3 separate regions of the Homo sapiens genome follow, and all the other regions are linked to region 1. The links are contacts of gene promoters, found by promoter capture Hi-C in human tissues and cell types (Jung and others, 2019). All regions are on one chromosome and are shown on one strand. The core of a region is centred on a gene start or on the middle of the fragment in contact, and the rest is flanking DNA. Distances in the headings are between cores, read along the strand shown. Region 1 holds the start of SEMA3D (semaphorin 3D). Region 2 has its middle 78 kb from the start of SEMA3D. Region 3 overlaps SEMA3D (semaphorin 3D).

What was found. The method cuts DNA at HindIII sites, captures the fragments that hold promoters and counts their contacts. A contact is called where the count stands out against the background at its distance.
Region 2: a contact is called between a fragment that was not itself captured here and the fragment with the promoter of SEMA3D in region 1, in 4 of the 25 tissues and cell types used here (H1 embryonic stem cells, adrenal gland, mesendoderm cells and 1 more).
Region 3: a contact is called between a fragment that was not itself captured here and the fragment with the promoter of SEMA3D in region 1, in 8 of the 25 tissues and cell types used here (H1 embryonic stem cells, adrenal gland, aorta and 5 more).

Annotation. Positions count from the first base shown.
Region 1 is chr7:85,185,781-85,188,847 of GRCh38, reverse strand. It overlaps SEMA3D (semaphorin 3D), which reads left to right and starts at 1,792. Exons shown (of 19, transcript NM_001384900.1): 1 at 1,792-2,170. RefSeq lists a silencer at 1,921-1,980. The HindIII fragment of the contact is 9,968 bases long and covers 1-3,067 here.
Region 2 is chr7:85,263,523-85,266,743 of GRCh38, reverse strand. No RefSeq gene overlaps it. Among named protein-coding and RNA genes, the nearest start is that of SEMA3D, 78 kb to the right of the region's middle. The HindIII fragment of the contact is 6,336 bases long and covers 1-3,221 here.
Region 3 is chr7:85,104,218-85,107,063 of GRCh38, reverse strand. All of the region lies in intron 3 of SEMA3D (semaphorin 3D), which reads left to right. Among named protein-coding and RNA genes, the nearest start is that of SEMA3D, 81 kb to the left of the region's middle. The HindIII fragment of the contact is 3,004 bases long and covers 1-2,846 here.

The sequences.
Region 1 (3,067 bases), core at 543-3,042:
GAAAACAGGAGGGAGTGATTAATTCTGTAAGGGCTTTATGGAAAGTATTGAATGGTAGCAAAGGAAGGTGTCATTTGGTTTAAGCATATTAAGCTACAACTTAAAAGAGAAAGGAGGAAAATGGGAAATCCAAAGTTAACCACAATTCTAGTTAAACACAAAATTCTGGCCAATAAACTGACAAAATTATTTAAAAGTTTAAAAATAGAGATTTTCTAAAAATCAAAAACTACTTACTATAAACCCACCATATACGGGAGAAAAAAAGAGATATTTTATTTGCACAATGACATTGCAATTTGCATGGAAGTGCAATGACATATACAAATGAAAATAATATAAACACATAGAAACATACAATAAACAATTGCATGACTATGTACAGAATGAGTGGTATAACATTAAATATAAAGCATTCAGAAAAAAAATAAAAGTTGCTATAGTTTGAAATAGTCTACGAGGATTTAAAATTTTTTTCTCTATCCAAAGAGGGTATTTATGGGGTTGATTGGTTGTGAGTCCAAACCAAGGTTATAGAGATGGGGCAGCATGAGACACAAGAAAGAGCCTTGGTCAGATTTGAGAAACCTGAGCCTTTCCTTAGCCTGACTCTGCCATCAACCATTTATAACTTAAAATGACTCCTTTAGCTTCTGTGGCCCTCAGCCCTCTGCCACAGATAAAAGGTCAAATGAAGAATGTCTTCCACCCCTTTCAGTTATTCCATTACTGCATTTGTCTGTTCACCATCTCCAAATCAAGATATCTCTTGTTACTTGCTAAGGAAGCTTTGGGACCCTACACCTTGTGCTCTTAAATCAAGCTGACAAATGCAGGATCCCGTGGCTGCTTGCTTTCCATGTCTCTACCTCATGTCAGATTTATGTTTGGGACTAAGGGCAAGGTGTGTGACTATAAACCTGGATATCCCATCACAAAGGATTTACCATGCAGCTAAAAATGCCTAACGTACAGGGCTCACCAAATGCACAGGCCTTTTTAATGTCCCTGACGGTGGCCTCATGAACTCTCATTGTCATATATTTTTGCAGAATCTGTAGAAGTGAGATATTTCTGCATTACTTTTGCTTAAAGAGGATCCTCTATTCCAATTGCATAGGATCCAGGTTCATCAAAACTTAGATCTTCTCGTCATTATATACTTCTAAGTTCCTACTGTGTGAATAAGGGGTGCAAAAATCTAAAAAACTCCCGAAGACAAGGATATGAGGCACACCTCTTTGTAGGTCTGGCGTAAGGGAAAGAGGAAGAAAGGATTACATTCTACTCGTTTTTATCTCTCCCTGTTTGGTCTTAATCGGGTGCCAGCCCCTTAACGGAGGGTTGATCCCTGTTCCTCATCCCTATGCCTGCCTTGTCAAGGCCATTAACCGTGGATTGAGGTTTTACATAGTGGAACGCAGGTACTGTTTTGTGGGATTAGCATTTTTAGGACGGTGTTTGTGGTCACTCTCCCTGTTTCTTCCTCATGGGGTCCCTTAACAGGTTTTATGGTATAGAGAAGGAACTAAAGAAGTCCCCAAGTCACCCAGAAGGAAGATCAGACGTTAGAGGTTGCTTTACACATAGGGTGCCCTGTCCTGATAAACATCCGTCAGCGCTTGGCCAGGGCTACCTCTAAATCCACGCTGCTGGCAGCCTCCGCGCAGCAGGGATGAACTTCTGCACGCTTGGGAGTTCTGGCGTGCGCAGTGGAAGGAGGGGGCGAGGGCTGGGGGAGGAGATCGGAAGGGGAAAGGTAATCCCCGGCGTTTTCAGCATCCTCTTTTTAGAAAGACTGAGTCTCTCCCAGGACAGCTGCTGCGGTCACACCACAAACTTAAAAGCCGCCCTCCTGTTTGGAGCGTGCCTTTCCTCGCCACCCTCTCCTCCCCAAAGCTCCAGCTGGTGCCTTGCTCTCCGCCTGTCCTAGCGCGGCTCTCGGGGGAGGCAGCAGCGCCCCCTGCCTCCCGGCCTGGCCCCTGCGGCCGCAGCTTCCCGGCTCTGCCAGGGCTGCCGGCGGCTCCGCTTGCTCAGCCAGGGCTGCGGCTCAGAGGAACGCGCGCCGGTGCCCCGGGTTGCCGCGCCGCTGGACCTCAGCCTGCATCCCGTTCCCCTCTCCCTGAAAAGGCACCAGGAAAAGAGAGAGGGAGAGAAGAGTTCACAGCAGGTAAGTCTGGTTTGGGTCACCTGCTACTCCAGTGGGAGGGTGTGCTGGAGACCGCGGTGCTAAGCGGGGATAGCCGGGATTTGGGGGTGGCTGTGGGTCCGAAGTGGAGGACGAGCATGGTTTGGGAGATAAGGAACCGTCCTGAGACAGAGAAGGCTCCCGGGAGCGGACAGAGAGTGGGCGAAATCGGTGCGCAGTAATCGCGGCGCCAGCTTCAGCGCGGCCCCTGGGGCGCAGTCCCACCCCGCCTCAGCAGCTGCGGAGCCTTCTGACGAGCCTCCGCCTGGCAGCACTGCACAAAGTTTTCCTCCTGAGACGCGTCCAGGAACTTTGCTCTCTCCCTGGCTTCCTGGTTCCCCCACCACCCCTCCTGGTCTGGGCAGCAGAGAGCGTCTATGAATGTGTCCCCGGCTTCCGCAGGCTGCAGGTTCATTTGGAGACGCTTTAGTCGGGAACATCCGGGGAGTACTTGACCAAAGGGCATCTGCGCCCTCGCTCGCTCCTTTCCTTGTTGGTCTGGGAGAAGGGAAAGGGGCAAGGAAGAAGGAAGGGAAGCGTGGTGGTTTTTGTTGTAGCGTTTTGGAAGAGGAATGGGCGACGCCTTTTTCTTCGCCGGGGAATCGCGACGTTCCGTCTGATGGAAGTGTGCATCCTTTTAGATTTAGAGGGAAAGTTGGAGTCAAACAGCAGCCACAAAGCTGGCTGTCTGAAATGTGGTTAAGGCAAAACACTCGGGGGATCTCTTTGTAGTAGTGGGCTTGGCTCGCTTTGGAAAGGCCGGATTTGACTCGTGCTGGGCATTTAACCAGGAGTGCGGTCCCCAGGGTGTTTCCTCCCGGCTTCTGCCCAACGAGCCTGGAGTTAATGCGTTAATGGGCTACCCTGGTAGCGCACGGG
Region 2 (3,221 bases), core at 244-2,743, 78 kb before region 1:
AGAGGGTATTACTAGCTCCATCTATTTAACCATCTTGACTTCCTTTCACGTATTTACTTTTGAGGAGCTGAATATTAAAATACTTAATAAAGATTATTTTTATCAACACCTTACAAGTATTTAAAATTATGCCAGTTTATGAATCATTAACATTTTCTGAATTAACTAAACATAAGCATCATAAGCAGGTGTTAGTAAATTCACACCTGAAGTGAATATTTAAGTCTCACATTGGAGAAAACATTTCTGAAAATTGAAAAAAATCAATGAATTGAGATGTATTAACATAAATATATTATTTAGTGAAAATTTGCGTTGACTCATGAAAATGTGAAGAAACATCACAGTTACAATAACTACAAATTAACAGTTACTGTTAATAGCTGGGGCTAAAGTGAGATGTTTAAAGTACCATAGAAAGAGATTTCCTAGGGAATTGAGAAGTGACACTCCACAGAAAGTAATGCATGACTTACTTACTACTCAATATAAAGTTGTGGTGAGGTAAAGAAGTCAGCACCTGAGGAGAAAAAAATTATGGCCTCTTACCAAGATAATAACATGAGAATTAAATTCCAAAAAGAGTCAAATTGGCTTAGCTTTAGAGGCATGACAAACCCTCTGCCAAGACTGAATCTAACTGGGATGAATAAGTTTGGAGAATGGATGGATAATAGATAATGGATAGATCTAAAAAAAAAAAACAAAAAGATGCTGACTACAATCATAAATATGATAACCCATTAAGCCATTAACTCTGAGAACTAAAAAAAATAGATGGTTGACCCTTGTGCTCCCTTTTAAATTATTTATGTGAGAAATAGTTATCTTTCAAGTGGTTTATATCACTTATTTAGATACATATATATATGTATATTTAGGAAAAAATATTTGGAGAACAATACTAATGTTTTCTTTTAAAAATAAAACATTTCTTTTCAAAAAAAATTTATAGCTTTTAATTAAAAAAGCAGCAAGCTTCACCTCTTCTGAGTTTTAATTTTTTTGTCTGTTGAATGGTAGATTGATCTCGATAATCTTTAACTCCTACATTCTGTAGGTCTGTGAAGATAATGACTCAACACGAGTATGTATTTCAAAGATGCTTATAAACTAAATCTCACTCTTTGATACTTTGGCTTGTGATCCAGAGAGATGAGACTTAGGTAAATAGGGTATGATGTGAAATGTACTCCTGAGAATTAGGAGTAGATCCCTGAATTCTACACTGGGTCCTTATTATGGCCAGTAACCTGCCACAGTTCAACAAAGCAAAAAAATGTGAACTTTCTGAAGCCTTGAGGGAGTTCTCAAAGGACTTTGAAAGAGCAGTTAGATATCTTGATATTAGTGAATATAAACACAATTATTGATATTATCTGATTATTGTTGCTGTTTTCCATCTTGCTAGAGATCCCTATGAAACAAAAACATAAATCTGATGTATATATACAAAATTAAAATGCAGACATTAACAACAGGGATAGCATTTACTGTATTTCCCAGCAGTAAGCATTTTTTTTGGTAAAAATATTCCCTCATGCATGTTTGCAAAATATCAAGTCTTATAAGTGAAGATATAATAGATTATGGATTAGAATATGTATTTTAGTAGAACATATTATTGATTCTCATTATTCACCTTTGTAAGAAAGCTAACATTTCCAGCTAAACTACAAGACAAAGAAACTAATTAACAAAAATAGAAACACACTTAAGCTCTTAAGTAATATTTTATTGACAATATTTGGTGGTATTTGAGTATTGTCTAAAGGAGTATAATAATTTCTTTACCTGTGTAGTGTGAAGGTAACAGTCTTTCAGAACTATACTACAGACTACAGAGAATAAACAAGTAAAGGCAGAGGAAGAGAAAAAGTGAGAGATTGAATAGAAATAATTAAAAATAAAAGGGACATATAATTTAAAAGTTGATGATGAAGTCTGTTTAGCTCTATTCTCCCCATTCAATTCAAAACAAAGGAATACATTGTAAAATTAGCTATTTTCAGAATTTGACAAAAGGATGTAAAATTTGTTAAATCAAATAAGTGATGATTAAATGCTATCACATCATCATAGATATGTTTTACTTAATCATAGTCATTATTCATTTATGACTGAGTATTAAATGCTGTTAATTAATTCCTTAAATTTGCATTCTACTAATTATGCTTATATTTTGTTTTGTTTAATATTTATTCTTATTAAACATGTACCATTACCACCTGTCATAACTTTGAGAAAGTAAAGAATTGATTCATTGCATTACTTTTATTTTGTTTTATTTTATTTTTTGAGACAGGGTGTGGCTCTGCCCCCAGGCTGGAGTGCAGGGGTATAATCTCATCTTACTGCAACATCTGCCTCCTGGGCTCAAGTGATCCTCCCACCTTGGCCTCCCAAGTAGCTGAGACTACAGGTGCACACCAACTTGCTGGGCTAATTTTTAAATATCTATATAATTTTAGAGATTAGGTCCCATTATATTGCCCATTATATTGCCCAGACTAGTCTCAAACTCCTGGGCAACATACTTAGTCACCTTCAATCTTGGGCCTTAAAGTTAATTTTTATTTTCTTTCTATTTTTGTGAGATGGGGTCTCACTATATTGCCCAGGCTGGTCTCAAACTCCTGGGCTCAAGGGATCCTCCTACCTCAGCCTCTCAAAGTACTGAAATTACAGGTGTAAGCCATCATGCCTAGTTTAATTTCCATTTCCCTCATAAAATAATTAACATTGTAATTAATATTATGATAGTGTAGCTTTTTCTCTTTTTTTAGGATGGAGCTACCACTTTTGGAATCACTTGGTTAAGAATACAAATATTTTAATGTCTGTTTCATATTAGCAAATTGCTTTTTACAAGGGCTGTCTAATTAGACTCTCACCAACAGTATGGAATTTTGTTTCCTTTGGCAATTTCATTAATGAAAAATTGTTACCTCATGGTTGTTTAATTATTATTGTCTTAATTAACATATTTCTAAGGAACCATTTGCTCCTTATAGGTTTTAATTTGATACTGAGTATTTTCTCTGTTTTGTGAATCATTGCTTTATGATATTTCTCTGTATATCTAAGGAGTACTTTGGATGACTTGGGGACATTTAGAGATCCATGAGGCAAAACAGTTATCTCAAATTCTTATTTGATTATCTCAATGAAAAAAAGTCTCTATAAAAATTCATATAGATATAGCTCTTTGTAAATATGCA
Region 3 (2,846 bases), core at 156-2,655, 81 kb after region 1:
TGATTTGAACAGCTTCCAAGAAAAAGAGAAGACACATTCAAAGTCTTGGAAATACAAATGGTGATATGGTGTGACTGTGTTGCCACCCAAACCTCACCTTGAATTGTAGTTCCCGTAATCCCCACGTGTCCTGTGAGGGATCTGGTGGGAGGTAATTGAATCATGAGGGCGGTTTCCCCCATGCTTTTCTCCTCTTAGTGAGTGAGTTGTCATGAGGTCTGATGGTTTTATAAGCATCTGGCATTTCCCCTGCTTGCACTCATTTTTCATCCTGCTGCCCTGTGAAGAGGTGGCTTCCACCATGATTGTAAGTTTCCTGAGGCCTCCCCAGCCATACGGAACTGTGAGTTAATTAAACCAGTTTTTCTTTATAAATTGCCCAGACTCGGGTATTTCTTCACAGCAGTTTGAGGACAGACTACTACAGATGGCATGAGACATCTCAGCTGTGACTGTCACAATTGAGAAGTTTCACATATGCCTTTTAACATTATTTTTTGATATACATATACTTGATTTTAATAGAATTAATTTTATAAAACAATATTGTTATAAAATAATGTTATCTGTTTTATATTACACACATAACTTTTTGCTTTATTCCTTAATTTATAGTGATCTTAGTTTGAGGAATTATTTGTCTTGTCATATTGTCGTATTTGTCTATTACTTGGAGTCAATAATAGATGTTGTATTAAGTTAAGACCTTCCGATGTTTTCTACATTAAATTTATATACTTGATTGAAACAAATACCAAATATGTGTGACATGGCGTTTAATTTTAAACATTCTTTGTAACTTGAAGAAGGAGAAATTCTGAATAACTTGAAGGAAGCTATGAAGCAATTGTAAAAGTAGTATCAATCGTGCTCAGAATGATACTCTCAACTTTTTTCCAGGAAGTTTATTCCATCGTGACATTGCTTTTCTGGAAATGTACTAGATATTTATAATACTAACTTTTTTACAGGTCAATAGGAAAAAAGATCCCAGCAAAGCTTTTGAAAATTTAAAAGGACTCATTCAAAGTATGAATTTACTCCGTAACTATAAATGATAAATCTCACAATGATGGATTATATAAAGCATCCACTATTGAAAGCTGGCCAAATAAGAACAAAATGTAATTTAAAAGTATGGATGTGATAGAAATGTGACCATGAGTAATTGCCACACTCCTACTCCACAACCTGTCTTGGCAAGAACACAGACCCCATGACATAATAAGCTTAATTTGTTTCTAATTTATGTTTCCCTATGTGATATCATCTGTTTTATTATTGATATAGGTAATGTTCTAAGACCAATGAACAGAATGATCTATAACATTCCATCACAGAAAAGCAAGAGAATTTGATTTGTTTGTGTTCTTTCTGATTTGGACTTGCATTTGCAAGGAAATAATGGTTAGTGTGGATAGCTTAATGATATCTAAGAGAGCATAATAATAACATAATATTCACCTGCAATTTTGAAGCAGTCTTTTGTAGGGCTTTTAGATTTGACTAATATTTTTTCTTTATATGCTTTGAACAATTAGCTTTAGAGACTAAATGTACACAGTGGAGAATCATAGGTATTTTTGTGTTGCTAAAGGGGAATTATGAGTTATCTTGATAAACAGAACGTTTTCACATGATCTCAAGCCTCAGAAAGCATATTGGAGGTCAGCTGATGCCAAGTTAAGATGAGCTAATTTTCCCAATGTTAAATCTAAGAGAGAATCCATGCCTTGCCTTGGACAAAAAGCTGTAGTATTTCTGGAAGTTATGGGCAGAAGCTTTGAAGGCACTCCATAGAAATGATGCTCTGATACTAACTCAGCATAAAAAGCCCTGGAACTTTAGAGATCAGAGGAGAAATGCTGAATTTAGGGGGAAGGCAGAAATAGAAAGGATGCTGAAAGGCTTAAAGAGAAACGTTTTTACTTACACAGCTTTGTAGAGAATACATTGGAGATCTGACTATACTAAAGAAACATGAGAATAGCCCTACTGATAAAACTGCTATTTCCTGAAGGAAAAAGAAAAGTGGGCAGGGCAATAATTTGTGCTGAATATCCTGAGATGGCAGGGAAAGGTGACTGTATTTTGATCTGGATCTATTTTTAGTTGTGAAGTTTCTCTGCTGAGGAATTTTACTCCCTAGATTGGAATACATTGGAAGTTAAGCTTCTCCAAAGCTGATTTTCTTTTTAGCCCCATGAATTTCTGTCTTTCATAAAATGTTCTTTAAAGGATGTGGGAAGCATTTTTTTTCTTTTCTTTTCTTTTCTTTTTTTTTTAATCTATGTAGTCTTCTCGTGAGAGAAACTGACAACTCCACCCAGTTCGGGATCTCTGGCAATAAATGCAAGATTTCAAGGTTATAGGATCTTGTTCATTTAACACTCAAATACTGAGGAAGTCTGTGTTGCTTAATCCTAAATTTATTAGATTCAATATGACTCACCACTCCCTTCCTTTCTGGGGTGAAGAGGAAGAATATAGACCATCGGGTCAAATGTTTCCCCAGGCTGAATGAACAATTGTATTAAGGGACACTAAAAGGGAGATACAAAGAATTATTTTTAGAACAAAACTATTTCAAATAAGAGCAGAGATTACCTAATCCTTATCCTTCCCCTTAAATAGCAGAGCATCTGGCTATCAATTAGGAGATTCATTTTATTAGGCTTGCTAAAGGAAATATAGATAAAAAGATATTTCCATTTTACTATTAGAGATACTTAATGGTCTACTATGTTATATGGTTGTCCTTTGTCACAAGTATATTTTCATTTTTGTTGTGGATGAACATTTTCTCTCCACTAGGCTGTGAGTTCCATGAGGACAGGAGTGTGTCA